Linked DNA regions of Homo sapiens: all the other regions are linked to region 2. Evidence: promoter capture Hi-C in 16 types of primary human blood cells and fetal thymus (Javierre and others, 2016). All regions are on one chromosome and are shown on one strand. The core of a region is centred on a gene start or on the middle of the fragment in contact, and the rest is flanking DNA. Distances in the headings are between cores, read along the strand shown.

Evidence for each region. Contacts are between HindIII fragments. The CHiCAGO score rates a contact against its expected background, and 5 or more counts as called.
Region 1: a fragment that was not itself captured here is called in contact with the fragment with the promoter of WNT8A in region 2 in 6 of 17 cell types (total CD4 T cells, activated CD4 T cells, total CD8 T cells and 3 more); the score reaches 8.6 in total CD4 T cells.
Region 3: a contact is called between a fragment that was not itself captured here and the fragment with the promoter of WNT8A in region 2, in 4 of 17 cell types (naive CD4 T cells, naive CD8 T cells, total CD4 T cells and 1 more). The highest score is 7.8, in naive CD4 T cells.
Region 4: a fragment that was not itself captured here is called in contact with the fragment with the promoter of WNT8A in region 2 in 1 of 17 cell types (total B cells); the score reaches 5.2 in total B cells.
Region 5: a contact is called between a fragment that was not itself captured here and the fragment with the promoter of WNT8A in region 2, in 2 of 17 cell types (total B cells and naive B cells). The highest score is 10.1, in total B cells.
Region 6: a fragment that was not itself captured here is called in contact with the fragment with the promoter of WNT8A in region 2 in 1 of 17 cell types (total B cells); the score reaches 7.4 in total B cells.
Region 7: a contact is called between a fragment that was not itself captured here and the fragment with the promoter of WNT8A in region 2, in 1 of 17 cell types (naive B cells). The highest score is 5.7, in naive B cells.

Annotation. Positions count from the first base shown.
Region 1 is chr5:137,619,610-137,622,406 of GRCh38, reverse strand. It overlaps KLHL3 (kelch like family member 3), which reads left to right. Exons shown (of 15, transcript NM_017415.3): 15 at 281-2,797. The coding sequence ends at 309. Among named protein-coding and RNA genes, the nearest start is that of MIR874, 27 kb to the left of the region's middle. The HindIII fragment of the contact is 4,842 bases long and covers 1-2,797 here.
Region 2 is chr5:138,082,738-138,085,499 of GRCh38, reverse strand. WNT8A (Wnt family member 8A) reads right to left here and starts at 1,467. Exons shown (of 5, transcript NM_001300939.2): 1 at 1,217-1,467; 2 at 864-1,002. The coding sequence starts at 1,372. The HindIII fragment of the contact is 12,012 bases long and covers 1-2,762 here.
Region 3 is chr5:137,640,559-137,643,333 of GRCh38, reverse strand. All of the region lies in intron 8 of KLHL3 (kelch like family member 3), which reads left to right. Among named protein-coding and RNA genes, the nearest start is that of MIR874, 5.7 kb to the left of the region's middle. The HindIII fragment of the contact is 6,724 bases long and covers 1-2,775 here.
Region 4 is chr5:137,798,367-137,801,066 of GRCh38, reverse strand. No RefSeq gene overlaps it. Among named protein-coding and RNA genes, the nearest start is that of HNRNPA0, 45 kb to the right of the region's middle. The HindIII fragment of the contact is 175 bases long and covers 1,351-1,525 here.
Region 5 is chr5:137,759,101-137,762,018 of GRCh38, reverse strand. No RefSeq gene overlaps it. Among named protein-coding and RNA genes, the nearest start is that of HNRNPA0, 6.2 kb to the right of the region's middle. The HindIII fragment of the contact is 157 bases long and covers 1,332-1,488 here.
Region 6 is chr5:137,781,833-137,784,763 of GRCh38, reverse strand. No RefSeq gene overlaps it. Among named protein-coding and RNA genes, the nearest start is that of HNRNPA0, 29 kb to the right of the region's middle. The HindIII fragment of the contact is 982 bases long and covers 1,023-2,004 here.
Region 7 is chr5:137,662,431-137,665,130 of GRCh38, reverse strand. The region is part of intron 6 of KLHL3 (kelch like family member 3); the gene reads left to right. Among named protein-coding and RNA genes, the nearest start is that of MIR874, 16 kb to the right of the region's middle. The HindIII fragment of the contact is 3,612 bases long and covers 1-2,700 here.

The DNA.
Region 1 (2,797 bases), core at 168-2,667, 460 kb after region 2:
GGAGTCACCACAGTGAGTCCATGTGATGACACAGGGTGAGGCCACTAGTCAGTGGTGTTTGAGGGACTGTGCTCGTAGGTTCAAGTGTCTTGCCAGGACTTGGCTGTTGGAGTGGGGAACAGCCAGCTGCTAGCAGCCTGAGTCCACTTCAATATTAGGATAAAAATTGCACACATTTCCCTTGGCTGTGACTCAGGATATCTTGGATTCATGAACTCACTGGGACTCTGAGTAATTTTGGAGAAGCTAAGATGATAACTTTCTCCCCCTTTCTTATTAGGTGTTGCCGTGATTCACAAGTCCTTGTGACCCAAACTCCTACTGCCAGGAGGTGGAGGAAGGAGCAGGTGCTGCCTGTGACTCTGAACAGCAGGACCTTGGTGACTGGATTCAACTTGCTTGGGAGGGTCTGTGCTGCTGTGAGAACCGCTCTCCTCTGACTTGGCAGACTGGTGTTGTTCATCGCAGTGTGGACACCATTACCCACCCCCGTTCCCCTGAGGTGCTCTGGCCTATGCCCTGAGCAAGGGGGGTCTTGACATCCCCAGGCAGCACCTTTGGGCTTTGTTTTGGTGTTTCTACAGGGACAATACAGACCCTGGAGTGTGTGTGTGTGTGTGTGTGTGTGTAGACCATGGTGTTTCTCTATGTTTCTCTAAGTTGGGGGGTGAGCGTGTGTGACAGTCTACTGGATTTCTTTACTACTGATCCTTTCGCTGTGTTAAAAATCAAGTCACAGAGACCTCTCTTCTGGATTTGTCCCATGGGGACCCTGAGACTACTAAAGCTGCTTTCTTCTGAAGGTCCAGTTGGACAGTCTGGGAATGTCCAGAAATAACCAGTGAGAGGGGCAGTTCTCTGGCCACACCCACTTATGTACTTTAACTACTGTGACTTTGTCTGCAGAAGAGCTGGAAAATTCTCGAAGCTGCACCGTGTCCTCTGTGTGCTAGAATAAGGGACAAATGGGTTCCCTGTGCTTCTCAGCTCACTGTTTTTCCTTGAGTTCTCCTACAGGAAGCAGATGAGAACTGCCCAGTCTTCAGGTTTAGGCCATTGGTCTTTGATGTCATAGATTCCAGGCCTGGGAGGTGTTATGTCTCTTCAGCTGGGAAAACTAGCTCTTCAGAGAAGCCTCGGGTAACACTGAAAAACAAAACAAAACAAAACAAAAACAGGAAAAAAACAAAAAACCAAAGTGGTAAGGATTCAGTTCCTGCCTATAATGGTCTCAGAGAGGGTCCTACTTTTAGGTTTTCCCAGGACAGGACAGTCCCCATTTATACTTATTATCCCAGTTTAATTATTCACAGCACCCCATTTTACTCAGAAGTGTTCTGGTCTGGAGGATAAATAAGAGGTCACCCTCCTCCAGACCCAAAGATAGATTTGTGCCTGTGTTGGATGGGGTCGTGTGTGATTCAGATGGACATTGGATGGCTTCAAAGGAATATACCACTAGAGCTGGCCCTTGGCACTTTGTGACAGTGGTCAAGTCTGTCTAATGTCCTTGTCTTCTTTTTCTTGTGCTTTCCCCCTATTCCAGGGTGTGCACCCTCTCCCCAACCCCCAAGAACCCCACTACTGCTTTCCCTGTGAGGTAGGAGATATCAGTGGGCCTTGGATTTGAGGCTTCCTAAGATGTGCTTGCATTTTAAAAAGGGAGCTTGGTGAGAGCTTTGCTAATTCACAGGTAAAAATTATTAACAATAGAACTTCAAGCATCTTGAGGAGCGGGCATTTGAGGGGGCATGGAGTAATTTGTATTTAAAAAACCTTAAAGTTGTGCTGTTCCTAAACTAGCAAATTGCTCATGCTGAAATTTCTGGCATAAGCAGGGGAAGTCTTGTGTCTGGAGAATAGTCTCATACCTTGCAGTCTGGGACACCCTCCCTACTTTGAGAATCCACCTACAGGAAGCCAAGGAACTTTATAAATCCTGATGTTGGACTTCTGATACGACTGGGCTACTTCCAAGCAGGTGCTGCAGGAGATTGGCATCCCCCAGCCCCTGCAGTTAGAAACCCCGAAGTCTTCCCAGCCAGTGAGCCACTTTGTGTATTTACTGTATATTTATTGTGCCCTAAATGTGCAACTCTCCTAAAGACAAAACTTCTCTTTCTGATGTTAAGCACATGTTACTTCAACAAGATGCTTGGAGAACAACAAGGTACCCAGAATTTTTAGAAGCCTTCAGAAGAGGCTAAAATATCCAGCTTTGGGGGACCTGGAAGAAATGTCTCCAAAGGAAGCAAGGCATGTTTTAGTTGAGTGCTCTGGTCTCACTATGAAGTGGGGATGACTGTGGCTTCATAACTCTACCTGGCTGTGGGTTGGAAGCTGATGGAATGAGAAATGTCCTTTCTCCTTCTCTGAGGAAATTTTGAGACTTGTTTCGGTGTGTCTGTGTGATGGGGATGAGGCTGGGGTTGGGATCTGATGTATGCCATTCACAGAAGCTCTCAATTTCAGATGATAGGTGAATTCCCTGCCCCTCCCCCACCACTGAGAAGCTAGACTTTCATGCGGGAGAGGCTACTTTTATGTGTCGTCTTCCGGGGAAGGGTCCCTCCACTGAAAGCTAGCCAGTCATGTTTTCTGTTTTTGGATTTTTGCAATTGGTTTCACCTCATGTCTCCCTCCCTACAAAGCACTGCCTCTACTGGGCGTGCTGCCAAGGCCATGTGCACTCCATCCTCATGTATCCTTTTTCACGGGGACCAGAACACTGGTACGTCATCACCAAAGCCAATCTGCTCTAGCTGCCCACAGATGCCACCAAAACCTGCTATCTCTT
Region 2 (2,762 bases), core at 218-2,717:
TGACATGCAAACTACGGCACACAGTTACAAATGGGTGCACGTGCACACCCATACACACACATAGACACACACCCCACCTGAGGCACAACTCAATGTGACGTCTCAGCTTTTCTGTTGAGATTTTATGGCAGTTAGCCATGTGAAACTTCCTCAGGAGCTGCAAACACACAGCCCTTTCCCCATTTTTATTTCATGCAACTCAGTGCAAGATCAGTGTGTACAAACGCACAAATATAGGCATGCATTTAAAAAATAGAGTAATTTCCGCTGGGCACGGTGGCTTACGCCTGTAATCCCAGCACTTTTGGAGGCTGAGGTGGGTGGATCACCTGAGGTCAGGAGTTTGAGACCAGCCTGGCCAACATGGTGAAACCCCATCTCTACTAAAAATACAAAAAATTAGCCAGGCATGTTGCATGCCTGTAATCCCAGCTACTCGGGAGGCTGAGGCAGGAGAATCACTTGAACTCCGGAGGCGGAAGTTGCGGTAAGCCGAGATTGCGCCATTGCACTCCAGCCTGGGCAACAGAGTGAGACTCCGTCTCAAAAAAAGAAAAAAAAAAAAGAGTAATTTCCTACATTTATCTCATACATAGAGACACCTCATACCCACCTCATTCAACCCATAGGATACTTCTGATGAACTAAACAGAACTGGCCTTACTGACCCAAATGACAAATCTGGGGCTGAGAGAGGGTAGGTAATTTACTCAAGGCCACACAGCAAGGAAATGGCAGGTCAGCAGGTCACTGGCAGCATTTTTATTTCACTGTGCAATACATGTCACACATATACACATACTGCAAGCCCCACTCCATTCACATATATACCCCTTGTACAGGTGAGTCCCACACAAACTTACCACTTCTCAGCCTGTTGTGGGTGGAGAGCTGAAGAGCATTTTCAGGGCAGTTCCAGCGTTCCCAAGCAAACTGGAACTTGCACTCCTCGATGCCACTCTGGGCACCCAAGGCCACACTAGTCGTGTAGGTCAGATAGGCCTGGCAAAGGGAAAAGGGCTGTGAGCTTCTGCCCGGTATGGGTCATCTGTGGTTGGGGGAGCAGGCAGGACTCAGATGGGCCAGCTCTCCATTAAGAATCAACCATGGGTTCCTCTGGGTGAGGGGCTCTGGCACTGTCCCCGCCCCTCTTTTCTCCAGAAGAGTCCCCTTAGGGCCCTCAGTGGGTAAAAACAGAAGCTGGAGATCATCCTACCTTGGGACCTGTTATCAGGAAATTGTTCACTGACCTACCAAAAAGAGAAAAAGTGAGGCAGAGGTGAATGGGGATGAGACAATGGGGGCCTCCTTGGCAAGGAGTGAGGGTTGGGAAAGGACTTACCAGGCAGAGGCACTGAATGCAGCACAGCATATGCCCAGAGCTGCCCAGAGCATAAACAGGTTCCCCATCGCCCTGCCTACCCCAGTGGACCAGGTCCAGCTCAGGGCCAAGTCCAGAGAAGTGAGGAGAGGGCAGGGTCTTCCTCAGTATTTATGTGAGAAAATTCTGAATGTCCAAGGGAGGAAATCAGCAGCTCTTCTCATTTGTTCCTAACTGGCAGGGCTGCAGGAGCCACCGGCCCAGTGGGGGATCTGGGAGGAGGGACTCAGTTTTCGCCAAAAGCCCCGCCCTGCCCAGCCCCTCCAGCCCTTCTTCCCTCCCAGAATGAGAAGGAGGCTGCTTTTCTCCTATACGTGAGATTTCTTTCTTCTATATGTCAATTTTGTCTCTTCCTGCTTCTTTGGCCCATTTCTCAGAATCATGTAGGCCAGAGCAGGCTGGGTCCTTAACCCTGAAGGCAGGTCACCTATTCTTGGAGCTACAGTGTCCTCATCTGTCAGTGAGAGCCCACTCTCTGTCCTGCCATCCTCCCCAAGGTGTTAATAATCATAAAGCAACTCCATCTGGGGCTGCTTCCTACTCATTTACCTAAACCAGTGAGTGCGCCATCCCTACCACTTCCTTCAAGGCTGTGAGGTGATGGAGCTGTGGGACTATGGAGCAGGAACACTTCAGAGTCCATCTCTGCAACAGTCCCTTCCACCACATTCTAGCAACTGCTGGGAAATTTCCTTAATTCCTAGCAAATCTATCCTTTTATATCTGAGGGTTACAACTCCAGTTAGTTGATTTTTTATATATCTGAGAACCAACCTTAGGGCCACCCAGGGTTATATTTGGGAAGACTGATGCCTTTCTCTTTTTTTTTTTTTTTTGAGACAGAGTCTCTCGCTCTGTCGCCCAGGCTGGAGTGCAGTGGTGCAATCTCAGCTCACTACAACCTCTGCCTCCTGGGTTCAAGTGATTCTCCTACCTCAGCCTCCCAAGTATCTGAGACTACAGGTGCCAGCCACCACACCCAGCTAAATTTTGTATTTTTAGTAGAGAAGGGGTTTCGCCAGTTGGCCAGCCTGGTCTTGAACTCCTGGGCTCAAGTGATCTGCCCACCTTGGCCTCCCAAAATGCTGGGATTATAGGCATGAGCCACTGGGCGTGGCCCTGATGCCTTTCTTTCTGATACTACTTTGTTACTAGGACTTCAGCTCCTTAGGTGGGAATCTGTCTTTTATTTTATTTTATTTATTTATTTATTTATTTATTTATTTATTTATTTATTTATTTTGAGATGGAGTCTCACTCTGTCGCCAGGCTGGAGTGCAGTGGCATGATCTCGGCTCACTGCAACCTCCACTTCCTGGGATCGAGCAATTCTCCTGCCTCAGCCTCCGGAGTAGCTGGGATTACAGGTGTGCGCCACCAT
Region 3 (2,775 bases), core at 217-2,716, 440 kb after region 2:
GCCCAGACTGGAGTGCAGTGGTGCTGCAATCACAACTCACTGCAGCCTCAAATTCCTGGGCTCAGGTGATTCTGCCACCTCAGCCTTCCAAGTAGCTGGGACTACAGGCATTCACCACCACACCCAGCTAGTTTTTTGTATTTTTTGTAGAGACGGGGTTTCACCATGTTGCCCAGGCTGGTCTTGAGCTCCTGGACTCAAGAGATCCACCCGCCTCTGCCACCTAAAGTACTGGGATTACAGGCATGAGCCACTGCACCTAGCTGTCGTGTATCATTTTTGTATTTCTACTCAGGCTTTACTTTAACATTAAAAAATTTGCATTTCTGTAATACTGTTTCTGTGAAAATTCTCAGAGATGAGTGGTAGATTTTCTCCAATATGCATGTACCCTCTACTTCCCTGGTGGGAGATAGTTTCTGGGGCATGGTGAGGGTTCCTGAAAACTTTGCCTTTTTTTTTTTTTAATTTACAAAAGAAGCTGGATAGCTTATGCCAAGTATAAGCAAACTTTCTTTTGGTGGTTGAGTCAAAAGATGGGAAAAGCTCTCACTTTCTCTTTTTATTTTGCTTGCTTTTTCCTCACTGTCTCCAGAATTTTAACCTGGTGTTCCAACATATTTTAACTAAAGAAAATGACGTTCTAGTTTAGTTTCTTTTTTCATTTTTAAAAACTCTGTATTGTTTGTTTAACTCCTTGCATGTGCTATTTACTTTTTATTCATGTATTCTTTATTCCAAATAAACACTTGAGCCCTCACTTTTACCTGGCAACATAAGTATATGGAGTTATCTTGGTGACTGAGGCAGATACGTTTTCTGCCTGGGCAGGGCTCACTGTCTAGAGGTGCAAAAGACAAGACACTGATGGTCCAGCACAATGCAGAACACACAGGGCAGGTGAAATCTCAGAGGACGGATATGTAGTTCTGACCTGGAGGCCAGGGAAGTCCATTTGTAGGAAATAACATTTAAACTGAGACCTGAAAGATAAGCAGGTGTTAAGGCAGAGTGCTCAGAGATGGGAAGGTTTCGAGTCAGGGAACAGCATGTGGGAGGGTGTGGGGTGCCTGAAGTCCTTGCAGAAAGAAAACTTAAAACTGCTTTTATTCTCACTCAGCTTCAGAAATCAGATTTCAAAGAAAATCCTTGCAGTATTTTCCTTCAGTTTAGCTTTACCAACTCAAAACCGGAAAGACAATGCAAGTTCTGGGCATATTTACGAACATGTCATTCTGCCCTTGAAGAGTAGGTTAGGCATTATCTGGTGTTTGCCAAGGGGCTGTGTTCATTAACATCCCCCTTGAACTGTTCATGGATGCCTGTCTAAGCAAAGAATTACAAATGGGAAGTAATGTAGAATTCATGTTTACTCTGAAAAAGGCTACTCTTGACACAGAGCAGTGGACCCTCTGAGCTGAGGCACCCAGGAAAGTCAAGTTTCTGTCTGGAAGCAGCAGCAGCAGCAGCTCGAGGCTGGGTTTTGTGTCCTGGGTTCCTTTGGAATGCTTTAGAAGTCAGAACTGATTTCTGAATTTTTGAACACTGGTTACCCACTTTTGGTGACAGACAGCTATGGACTAAGTCTGATGACCAGTGACCACCCACATGGCAGTGGGTGAGCCTGTTCTGGAATATTGGGGAATAAATGGTTGATCTGTAGTAATGGTGGTGAGCTCTGGTTTTGCCTCCCGTATGGTGGGAAGTGTTCACTTGAGGGATGTGCCTTTGCGAGTTCACACAGATTTTGATGGGCACTTCTCTCCCCAAAAATACATCATGGGGAAGTAAAAAGCACTATGATAATTCATAATGGCAAAAGTTGTTCATGGCATATCATCAGGAAATCCATACAGAGCATGGATTAAAAAGGTGGTTCTCAAAGTATGAACCCTAGAGTGGCAGCAGCAGCAGCACCTGGGAACTTGTTAGAAAGGCAGCCTCTGGGCTCCACTCCAGATCCACTGAATCACACTCTGGGGATAGGGCCCAGCAGCTTGTGTTTTCACAAGTCCTCTAGGTGATTCTGATGTATGCTCAAGTTTGAGAACCACTGGGTAAATAAGACAAGCTACAGGTAATGATCAAATGAATTTGCTGGTTGTGACTTCCACCCTTTCTCTCCACTCAAGAAAGCATATTGGAATGCCGTTGAGTGAGAGTGACATCATTGTGGGGACAGCTATGAATTTGTACATGTTTATTAAAATATGTAAACTATAGGTAACTGGTACTTTAATTTTTTATTTATTAATAACATGTGACCAAAGACACAGCAGTGATACCATAATTAAGTACTGCAGTTCTATTAACCTAACCAGAGCAGTAGTTTTCATTGTGTTTGACCATGCCCTTGCAATACAAAATGCATTTAAATTGCTATCCAGAAGACACATGTAAGTGTGTATAGCCAAAACCAATATTTCATGAAATAATATTCTTATCATATTTTCTGTGCTTTTAAAAATATATGTGCTGGTCATAATCCATTAAATTGATTTCATGACCTACTAATGGAAAGCGACCTGTGTTTTGACAAACATAGATGCAGCAAGCTGTGTTTGCTTGGATCCTGTCTCTAGAGCAGGAGTTGGGGGGGGTGGCTGGCCTCACCCTCTGTCAGGTAGACTTGGGTTTCAGTCTCTGCCTACACTCTTAGCTGTGTGACCTTGGGCCACTTACATGTGTTCTCTGAGCTTTACTTTGCTATCTGTCAATGTGGATGATGATATCTACCTCACAGTTGTGGTGACAAGTAAATGACAACACATTTCA
Region 4 (2,700 bases), core at 189-2,688, 280 kb after region 2:
AATCTGTGGCATTTTCTGGCATATATATATGTATATATATATATATATATTTTTTTTTTAAATTAGCACGGCCAAAATCAGACATTTAACTTAAATATTCCTGGAAAATTATTAGTAAACATTAATGGTTGTTCTTAGAGCATTTACTGTTAGTTAAGAGATGGACACATAGAGGGCAGCAGCACACACTGGGGCCTTTCAGAGGGTAGTGGGTAGGAGGAGGGACAGGATCAGGAAAAATAACTAATGGGTACTAGGCTTAATATCTGGGTGATGAAATAATCTGTACAAAAAACGCCCATGACACCAGTTTACCTATGTAACAAACCTGCACTTGCACCCCTGAACTTAAAAGTTTAAAAAAAGAGATGGTGCTATTCCAGATTTTGCAGTAATTTATAAGATTAATGAAGATACTTTTGAAATTGAAATTAATGCCAAGTTTCTGAGCAAGTATGTATTATAAATATAAGATTTTTATCAACTACTTTGGAGCTGACAACAGCTGAGCTGCTTATAGACTATAGATGAAAGTGGGGACTAAAAAGCGCTTTTCCTGTATTTGAAAAATTATTACAAGAAGGGGCCTACTTCTCATTTATAAAAGACTCAAAAAGTAAGATTTATATTAAATATAAGAAATATTTCCTTATAGTGAGTGTTTGAAGACTTTAGAAAACAAGGTTGTAGAAGATTGAGTATGGTTGAAAATATTTGTGGCATGGTCTAGTGGATGAGCACACAACATTTTCAAATACTACATTTCCTAAGCCAAGGACTCAGTGATAGAACCCTACATTTTAGGGCCAGGCTGTGTGATTCAATCCTGTTTCCCTACCCAAATACATCAAACTACCCTAAAGAAACTCAAAATTTCCAGGCAGTCAACAACATTGACATTGTGTGTCTGTGTTTTATAGAATCCTGCTGGGTCACTGGCTGGGGGGACTTGCAGGTAGAGTAGGAGTGGGATGTGTACTATGGACGTGAAGCCAATCTCCTCCTCTGTAAGAACCTGAAGAGCAGATACTATCAAAGCAGTTCAGTGGCTTGTATTTCTTTCCCCAGTCAACTTTTAGCAATGTCCCATTACTTATTTACCTGTTTGTATTTAAAATACAGAGAGTAGCAAACTTTGGAAGATTGTAGGGCTATTGGAAAGTACCTTTTCCATATATAGAGTATTGGCAAAAGCTAGTGGTGCCACAGGTTTGGTGGATATTAAGAGATCATTTTAGTTATCTGTGATCATGATGATTTTGAGAGTCAGCTTGAGTGGGAGAGAGCTAGGTCTGAATTTGGATTCTCCAGCATTACCTAGCTGGGTGATCTTGAGCTTCTCTCTAAGCTTTTATTTTTATTTTATTTTATTTTTTGCCATCCAGTTCTACCCCAAAAGGAGGAAGCAATAGATCTTCCTTTAATAACTTCCCAAAGTGTTACAAATAATAAAAACAAGCATAAAGCATCGCTGGGGTGGCTGAACGCGGAGCAGGGAAGGATTTGCTCCTCTGCTCTCTAAGCTTTTGATTCCTTTCCTATAAGGTGAATATAGCCACCTATCCTGCAGGATTATTTTGAAGATTAATGATAGAACATAGTAGATATTCAATAGATAGTAGTTATTACTGTTGCTGTTGTTTAGAATTTCGCTTAGTAGAAACATAAAATTTGAGTTAATAACAGAGTTTATTGTTTATTATTCTAAAGGAAGTCTGTAATGAGTGTGGGAAATTGAGAAATGACAAAACCAGAGTCATTTTTAAAAAAACTTTTAAGGGGATGTTTGGTGTAAATCTGTGTTCTGAGGTGAGGGGTCCACTGTTGTTAACATTTTTGCTCACCTAGGTACACATAGAGAGCTATTATAATCTGATGTAAACAAACGATGAGGAGCTAACACACAATGTCCATTTATTTTTTTTCCTTTTCAAAGACACTTCTTTGTCATCAAGGTTGGGTGTGCTTAGGAATTAAGGTATATATATAAAGGGAAGCCTACTGATTAATACTTCTGTTTTCTCCAGAATCACCAGGAAATACATTAATGCCTTCAAGAAAGATTAAATGGGAAAAAGGAATGTTTGGATGGAAAGACCGAATATTATAAAGATTTTGTTTCTTCCCAAGTTAAATTGTAGATATAATTCAATTTCAATGAAAATCCCAAGAGAGGTTATAAAAAATTACTTATAAAGTATTTGTAAGTGAAAATAGCTTTGAAAAATGGAATAATTAAAATGAAAAGCATGATTAACAACACCAAATATTTTAAAATATTATAAAGTGTGAATAATTAAATCAACGTAATGCTGGGCCAAGAATTAGCAGACAGATCAAGGAATGGAATAGACAGAAATAGACCCTGGTATATATAACGTGTTAATATATGACAGTGAAAGCAGTAAGGATTGCTTTTTTTTTTTTTTTGAGATGGGGTCTCACTCTGTCACTGAGGCTGGAGTGCAGTGGTGTGATCTCAGCTCACTGCAACCTCTGCCTCCTGGGTTCAAGCAGTTCTCCTGCCTCAGCCTCCTGAGTAGCTGGGACTACAGATATGTGCCACCACACCCAGCTAATTTTTGTATTTTTTGTAGAGATGGGGTTTTTCCATGCTGCCCAGGCTGGTCTCGAACTCCTGGCCTCAAGTGATCTGCCCACTTCTGCCTCCCAAAATGCTGGGATTACAGGCGTGAGCCA
Region 5 (2,918 bases), core at 161-2,660, 320 kb after region 2:
TTGAAATGTTCACCTTGAATAAATAAAAATGGAACCTGTACTAGTTTGCTAGTGCTGCCATAACAAAATATTACAGAATGAGTGGCTTAAACAATAGAAATTTATTTTCTCCTAGTTCTGGAGGCTGGAGGTCAAAGATGAAGTGCTGGCAGTCTGGGGTTCTTCTGAGGCCTCTCCTCCTTGGCTTGCAGATGGTCGTCCCTTTATGCACTTGTGCTCCTGTTGTCTTTCTTATGACACCAGACATATTGAAGTAGGGCCCCACCCTAATGACATCATTTTAATGTAATCACCTCTTTCGAAACCTTATCTTCAATTATGGTTACATTTGGAGGTACTGGGAGTTATGGCTTGAATATATGAATTTGAGCGTGGGGACCAGGGGTGCACAATTTAGTCCATAGCAGAATCCTAACTGTAAAACAAACATGGATCCAATAAAAAGCTAATTTTAAAAAATCACAGTTGCTGCTTTCTGGAAATATAGCTGGCCATAGTCTTTCCTTTCTTTCTCAGTTCATTCTTTCTCTGTCTACGTATAATTTAATATTAAAACACACTCTTTTTAGTGTGTGGTTCTATGACTTGTGTAACCATCACATTCCATTAGCTTTTTGTAATCAAGCTTGCAGGAGGGATGGAAGCCAAAGGCAGTCTAAATTTCAGTTTTATTTTTAAGTGTTTTATTTTGGAAGGCTTAGACACCTGTAAGCGAGTTAAAGAAACAAAGTAAACTCAGGCAGTGATCTAAAAGGCAAAGTAGAAAAAAATAGTTTTTCCTCCTTAATGACGTAGAGTAGGAAATTGACTGCATCATTTAAGTGTTTACATAATACTCCTTTTATTGACTGTCCCTACCTTTACTGATCTAATCTCCAAAAAGAATCTAACATTCTGGCCTGGTGTGGTGACTCATGCCTGTAATCCCAGTACTTTGGGAGCCAGAGGCAGATGGATCACCTGAGGTCAGGAGTTCAAGACCAGCCTGGTCAACACGGTGAAACTCTGTCTCTAATAAATATACAAAAATTAGCTGAGAGTGGTGGCACATGCCTGTAATTCCAGCTACTCAGGAGGCTGAGGCAGGAGAATCGCTTGAACCCTGGAGGCGGAGATTGCACTGAGCTGAGATTGCACCACTGCATTCCAGCCTGGGCGTCAGACTCTTGTCTCAAAAAAACAAACAAACACAAAAAAACTTAACATTCCAGTCATACTGCATATATCCTGGCTTTCTTAATGTCTCTACAACATTCTTGTATTGTCTCTGATCATCCCTATACCCTACTGTATGTAAGGTGTCTAGACCTGACATTTACCTCTGTGAAGCTTTATTAGCCAATAGAAATGAAAACCCTAATGGATCCCCATTTAGGTGGCATAGATCAGGGGTTCCCACCTCCTGGGCCATGGACTGGTATCAGTCTATGGCCTGTTAGGAACTGGGCTGCACAGCAGGAGGTGAGCGGTGGGTGAGCGAGTGAAGCTTCATTTGTATTTACAGCTGCTCCCCATGGCTCACATTACCACCTGAGCTCCGTCTACTGTCACAGCAGCAGCGGGATTAGATTCTCATAGGGCATGAACCCTATTGTGAACTGAACATGTGAGGTATCTAGGTTGTGCACTTCTTATGAGAATCTAATGCCTGATGATCTGAGGTGGAGCTGAGGTGGTAATGCTAATGTGGGGGAGTGGCTGCAAATACAGATTAACATTAGCAGGGAGGTCTGACTGCACAGAGACCATAATAAGTCGCAGACTCATATCAAAACCCTATCAGTGAGTGGCAAGTGACAATTAAGCCGTGGCTGGCAGTAGGCTTTATAGTGGCAAGTGAATTGATGTACTTCAATTGTACAGCTACATCTGGTGGCAGGCTGTCAGAATCTGACACTTAACTTTAGTCTGAGCATGGCCTGCCCATTATTTTATTTACCACTTCCATCCGTGCCTCTTTCCCATGCTATGCACTTGTCTCAGTCATAGTTTTGGTAAGCCCACAAGCTAACCCTAGCCAAAATGAGTAAAAAACAAATGTCACTGGAGAGCTTCTTTGTCAAGGGGGACAGACTGAATGATGAGACATCAGAAGACATTAAGACTTCCATCAAAAACAAAGCTGCATTTAAAAGAAAATACCAAGAGTCCTACTTAAATTACAGGCTCATTGCAACAAGTGATTAACATTCTACAAGCCCACTTTGTATAACATGTGGCAACCGGCTATCCAACAAAGCCATGAAACCTTCAAAACTGCTTCTCCACATGGAAACCTAGCACCTTGCATTAAAACACAAGGCTTTTGAGTTTTTCAAATGAACACAAAGAACAGAAGCAACTGGCCAGGCATGGTGGCTCACACCTGTAATCCCAGCACTTTGGGAGGCTGAGGTGGGTGGATTGCTTGAGGCCAAGAGTTTGAGACCAGCCTGGTCAATATGGTGAAACTCCGTCTCTACTGAAAATACAAAAATTAGCTGGGTGTGGTGGTACGCACCTGTAGTCCCAGCTACTCGGGAGGCTGAGGCATGAGAATCACTTGAACCCAGGAGGCAGAGGTTGCAGTGAGCCAAGATTGCACCACTGCACTCCAGCCTGGGTGAAAGAGAAAGACCCTGTCTCAAAAACAAGCAAACAAAAAACCAGAAGCAATTATTGAAGGCCACCACTTCATCAAATGTATCTGCACTGAGAGCATCATTCTTAGTGGCTAACTGCATTGCTAAAGCTAAGAAGCCCTTTACCGTTGGTGAAGAATTGTTCCTGCCTGCTGCTAAGGACATTTATCATGAACTTTTAGGAGAGGCTGAAGTTCAAAAGGTGACACATGTTCCTTTTTCGGCTAGTACCATAACTAGACAAAGTGATGAAATACAGAGGATATTGGGGCACAATTGTTAGGATTAATGAGTCAC
Region 6 (2,931 bases), core at 264-2,763, 300 kb after region 2:
CCGGCTTATAGGGTTTCTGTAGAGAGATCCGCTGTTAGTCTGATGGGCTTCCCTTTGTGGGTAAACCGACCTTTCTCTCTGGCTGCCCTTAACATTTTTTCCTTCATTTCAACCTTGGTGAATCTGATGATTATGTGTCTTGGGGTTGCTCTTCTCGAGGAGTATCTTTGTGGTATTCTCTCTATTTCCTGAATTTGAATGCTGGCCTATCTTGCTAGGTTGGGGAAATTCTCCTGGATAATATCCTGCAGAGTGTTTTCCAACTTGGTTCCATTCTCCCTGTCACTTTCAGGTACACCAATCAAATGTAGATTTGGTCTTTTCACGTAGTCCCATGTTTCTTGGAGGCTTTGTTTGTTCCTTTTTATTCTTTTTTCTCTAATCTTGTCTTCTCACTTTATTTCATTAAGTTGATCTTTAATCTCCGATATCCTTTCTTCCTTGATTGATTGGGCTGTTGATACTTGTGTAGGCTTCACGAAGTTCTCGGGCTGTGTTTTTCAGCTACGTCAGGTAATTTATGTTCTTCTCTAAGCTGTTTATTCTAGTTAGCAATTCCTCTAACCTTTTTTCAAGGTTCTTAGCTTCCTTGCACTGGGTTAGAACATGCTCCTTTAGCTCAGAGGAGTTTGTTATTACCCACTTTCTGAAGCCTACTTCTGTGAATTCGTCGAACTCTTTTCTCTGTCCAGTTTTCTTCCCTTGCTGGTGAGGAGTTGTGATCCTTTGGAGGAAAAGAGTTGTTCTGGTTTTTGGAATTTTCAGCCTTTTTGTGCTGTTTTTTCCCCATCTTTGTGGATTTATCTAACTTTGGTCTTTGATGTTGGTGACCTTTGGATGGGGTCTCTGAGTGGACGTGCTCTTCCTTTCCGTTTGTTAATTTTTCTTCTAACAGTCAGGCCCCTCTGTTGCAGTTCTGCTAGAGTTTGCTGGAAGTCCACTCCAGACCTTGTTTGCCTGGCTATCACCAGCAGAGGCTGCAGAACAGCAAAGATTGCTGCCTGTTCTTTCCTCTGGAAGCTTCGTCCCAGAGGGGCACCTGCCAGTTGCCAGCCAGAGCTCTCCTGTATGAGGTGTCTGTCAGCTCCTACTGGGAGGTATCTCCCAGTCAGGATACACGGGTGTCAGGGACCCACTTGAGGAGGCAGTCTGACCCTTAGCAGAGCTCGAACGCTGTGCTGGGAGGTCTGCTGCTCTCTTCAGAGCCATCAGGCAGGGATGTTTAAGTTTGCTGAGGCTGCGCCCACAGCCACCTCTTCCCCCAGGTGCTCTGTCCCAGGGAGACGCTGGTTTTATCTATAAGTCCCTGACTTGGGATGCTGCCTTTTTTTCAGAGATGCCCTGCTCAGAGAGGAGAAATCTGGCAGTCGGGCCACAGTGGCCTTGCTGAGCTGCCTGAGACAATTGTTCTTGGCTACAAGGATCAATAACAAGAGTGGTACTAGTCAAAGGTTGCACAGGCAGTTGCTGGGCAGATGTCCTCACAAAAGTATTTTTTTGTGTATAAGTTTGTGATGGCCTTTGTGCAAAGTTGTGGTTTTTTTCAGGGTCTTTTGTAATAGTTCTTGTTATCAGGCACTGTGCGTGAGAACCCTCTTTTCATGGGCTTCCCTGGCTCTTGACAGAGGCTTTAACACATGTGACTTCATTTGATTCTGACAACTTTCACAGTTCTTGGGTACTTCATGTATGTTATGCTAGCATAGTTGGTATTTTTGAGTTTTTTTATTTTTTGATTCTAATGTGTAGAAATACAACTGATTTTGCAAATTTGTGTCATCTTGCTAAAATGTCTCAGTAATTTAGTAATTTATCCTTAGATACTCTTAAATTTTTCACATTCGTGATCCTATCATCTACAAATAATGATAGTTTTGTTTCTCTTTCCAATTCCTATTCTTGTTTTGTTTTTTTTTCATATACTTGCCTTACTAGGCTGGCTAGGCCCTCTAGTACACTGTTAAATAAAAGTGGTGTTAACAGGCATTATTTAAAGGCAAAGCTTTAAACATCTCACTGTACTTGTAGTAAATATTACACTTAATGTCCTCACAGAAGTATTTTTGTTTGTATAAGATTTTGATGGCCTTTGTGCAAGGTTGTGGTTTTTTCAGAGTCTTTTGTGATAGTTCCTGTTGTCAGGCATTGTGCATGAATATTTATTTATAGTGTTTCAGACTAAGAAAATTATCTTTTTTTTCCCAGTTCATTAAGAGTCTTTAAAAAATATTGAATATTTGTTTTTATCAAATACACTTTCAATCATTATTAGGTTGTTCATGTTTCTTCTTCTATTCTGTTATTGTAGGTAACAGTATTAATTGATTTTCTTCTCCTAAATCAACTTTGTATTATTTAGACAAACCCATGTTTTATCCTTTTTAAATATTATCCCTTTTTATCCTTTTTCTATATTGCTATTTTCTGTGTGCTAATATTTTGTTTAGGAAATTTGCATTTATGATTTTTAGTCAGCTTACCTGTAAGTTCCCTTTTTCTTACTGTCCTTAGTGGAGTTTTTTTTTTTTTTTTTTGAGATGGAGTCTTGCTCTGTCACCCAGGCTGGAGTGCAGTGGTGTGATCTCGGCTTACTGCAACCTCTGCCTTCTGAATTCAAGTTATTCTCCTGCCTCAGCCTCGTGAGTAGCTGGGATTACAGGTGTGCCTTACCATGCCTGGCTAATTTTTGTATTTTTAGTAGAGACAGGGTCTCGCCATGTTGGCCAGGCTGATCTCGAACCCTGGCCCCAAGTGACTCCCAAAGTGCTGGGATTACTGGTGTGAGCCACCACACCGGGCCTCCTTAGTGGATTTTGATATCAGAGTTATGATAGCATCATCGAACGAGTTAGAGAAAATACTCCCTTTTTCTGTTTTCTGAAAGGGTTTGTATTATTGGTCTCATTTCTCCCTTGAATGTTCATAGAACTT
Region 7 (2,700 bases), core at 1-2,500, 420 kb after region 2:
GTCCTATAGAATGTTGCAAACATAGAGTTGTCTGATCGTTTCCTCACCGTAAGATTCAGGTTATATATTAATATTTTAGGAAGAATTGTACTTAGGAGATACTGTGTCTTTTCAATTAAATCACAATCAGGAATATAAGTTTGTCCTCTTATGGGTGGTGGTAAATTTGGTCCCTTGTTTAAGGTGTTGTCTATCAGATCTCTCTATTTGAGGATATTTTCCCTCCATGTAAATAGTATGTAATCTGTTGGGTGATTCTTTGAGAATTGTGACTCTTTCCCCATCCAACAACTTTATTATTATTATTTTTTTAAAGATAGGCTCTTGCTGTGTTGCCCGGGCTGGAGTGCAGTGGCATGGTTACAGCTCACTGCAGCTTCCACCTCCTGGGACCAAGTGATCCTCCTGCCTCAGCCTCTCAAGCAGCTGGGACTACAGACACGTGCCACCATGCCTGACTGATTTTTTTTTTTTGTAGTAGAGATGGGGTCTTGCTAAGTTTCTCAGGCTGGTCTCAAACTCCTGGGCTCCCACCTTGGCCTCCCAAAGGGCTGGGATTACCAGTGTAAGCCACTGCACCTGGCCTTTAACAACTTTCGATTTTAGCATCCATTGGTGATCTTTGTTCAATCAGTTATTACATTGGTGGTATTGCAGAAATGGTGTTTTTCTAATTCCGTCATTCCTTTTACAGGCATTTTTTTTTGGATATAAGAGACCTTCTTACACTTTTTTAGTATCCATATGGGCGCATGAATTATTTTTTTTAATTTTTTTTTTTGAGACAGGGTCTCACTTCGTCTCCCAGATTGGAGTACAGTGGTACACTCATGGCACACTGTAGGCTCGACCTCCCAGGCTCAAGCAGTTCTCCCACCTCAACCTCACTAGTAGCTGGGACTATAGGCATGCACCACCATGCCTGGCTGATTTTTGTATCTTGTAGAGATAGGGTTTTGCCATGTTGCCCAGGCTGGTCTTGAACTCCTGGGCTCAAGCAATCTGCCTGCCTTGGCCTCCCAAAATGTTGGGATTATAGGTGTGAGCCACCATACCTGGCCATATTATAATTTTTAAAAAAAAATTAAGAATATTTTATATTGAGGTATATGGATATTAAATACACAATTTGGTTAGTTTTGACACATGTATATGCCCATGTAATGCCCACCCTAAACCACAAAAGGTTTCCTTTGAACCTTTTTCAGCCATTCCCTGACCCTCCTTCCCCTCAAAGAGGCAGCACTGATGTGATTTCTTCATTATTCTCACTGATATTTAAATTGTCCCAAATATTGGCATTGAAAGCCCCATCCAGCTGGCTCTTTTTGACATGTCTTCTTTAATCACGTATAAGATGTTTGCTTTATTCTTTTTAATAGCGAAAATAGAGTTGGCACTCTGTATCCGTGAGTTCCATATCCAGGGATTCAACTAAGGAAATATTCAGAAGAAAAAAATTCCATAAAGTTGCGAAAAGCAAAATTTGAATTTGCTGCAACACCAAGTACTACATCATATCCACTTGCATGAAGTGATGTATGGGTATTATATTAGGTATTATAAGCAATCTTATATAATTATTTAAAGTATATTTATTATTAACATACTTTAAATATATATATTTAAAGTATTTAAAGTATATGGGAGGATGATTTAAAGTATATGGGAGGATGTGCGGAGGTTATGTGCAAATACTATGCCATTTTATATAAGGGACTTGAGCATTGGCAGATGTTGGTATCTGTGGGTGGTCATAGAACCAGTGCCCTGGGGCTGGGGCTGGTGGCTCACGCTTGTAATCCCAGCACTTTGGGAGGCTAAGGCAGGCGGATCACTTGAGGTCAGGAGTTTGAGACCAGCCTGGCCAATATGGTGAAACCCCGTCTCTACTAAAAATACAAAAATTAGCCGGGTGTAGTGGTGTACACCTGTAATCCCAGCTACTAGGGAGGCTGAGACGGGAGAATCACTTAACCCGGGAGGTGGAGGTTGCAGTGAGCCAAGATCGTGCCACTGCACTCCAGCCTATGCGACAGAGTAAGAACCAAAAAAAAAAAAAAAAAAAAAAAAAGAACGAGTGCTCAAGGATACTGAGGGATAACTGTATCTAATGGTATGGATACTCCTTTAATAATTTCTCTATTAGTGGACTTTAGGTTGTTTCATTTTTTTATCCCTTTACAACCATGCTGCAGCAAAGATATTGGAGCACATATTCTGTTCTCTTACACTGATGTGAGTATAAGCTAGAGCTCTAGAAGTGGTATTTTTAAAGTCAACGAGAATGCACATTTAAAATTTTGATCGATATTGCCAATACTTCCCTCCCCTCTTAAAAATCATTATTAATGAAATTTTTACAGACACTGCTGGTTTCCCCATTGCCCCTCCAACGTTGAATTTTATCTGCCTATGTGTATGTGGTGGCACAGGGTTTGAATTTGGACTTATCCTTGAGTAGAGTGAACATCCAAAGTATAGGTCTGCCTTTTTGGTTCTAAGCCCTCCAGTTTTGATTTGCATAGAAATGAAATCTCTCCTCAAGGAGAAATGTTTGCCATTCCTTGTCATTCAGTGTCACATTGACCATCACAGCCAGCTTTGGGCAGAGGGCATTCTTACTGTTTTTATTCTACATTAACTTTACACGGGACATAAGTGAGGAAACGGGGGCATGGGGAGATGACGACATTGCCC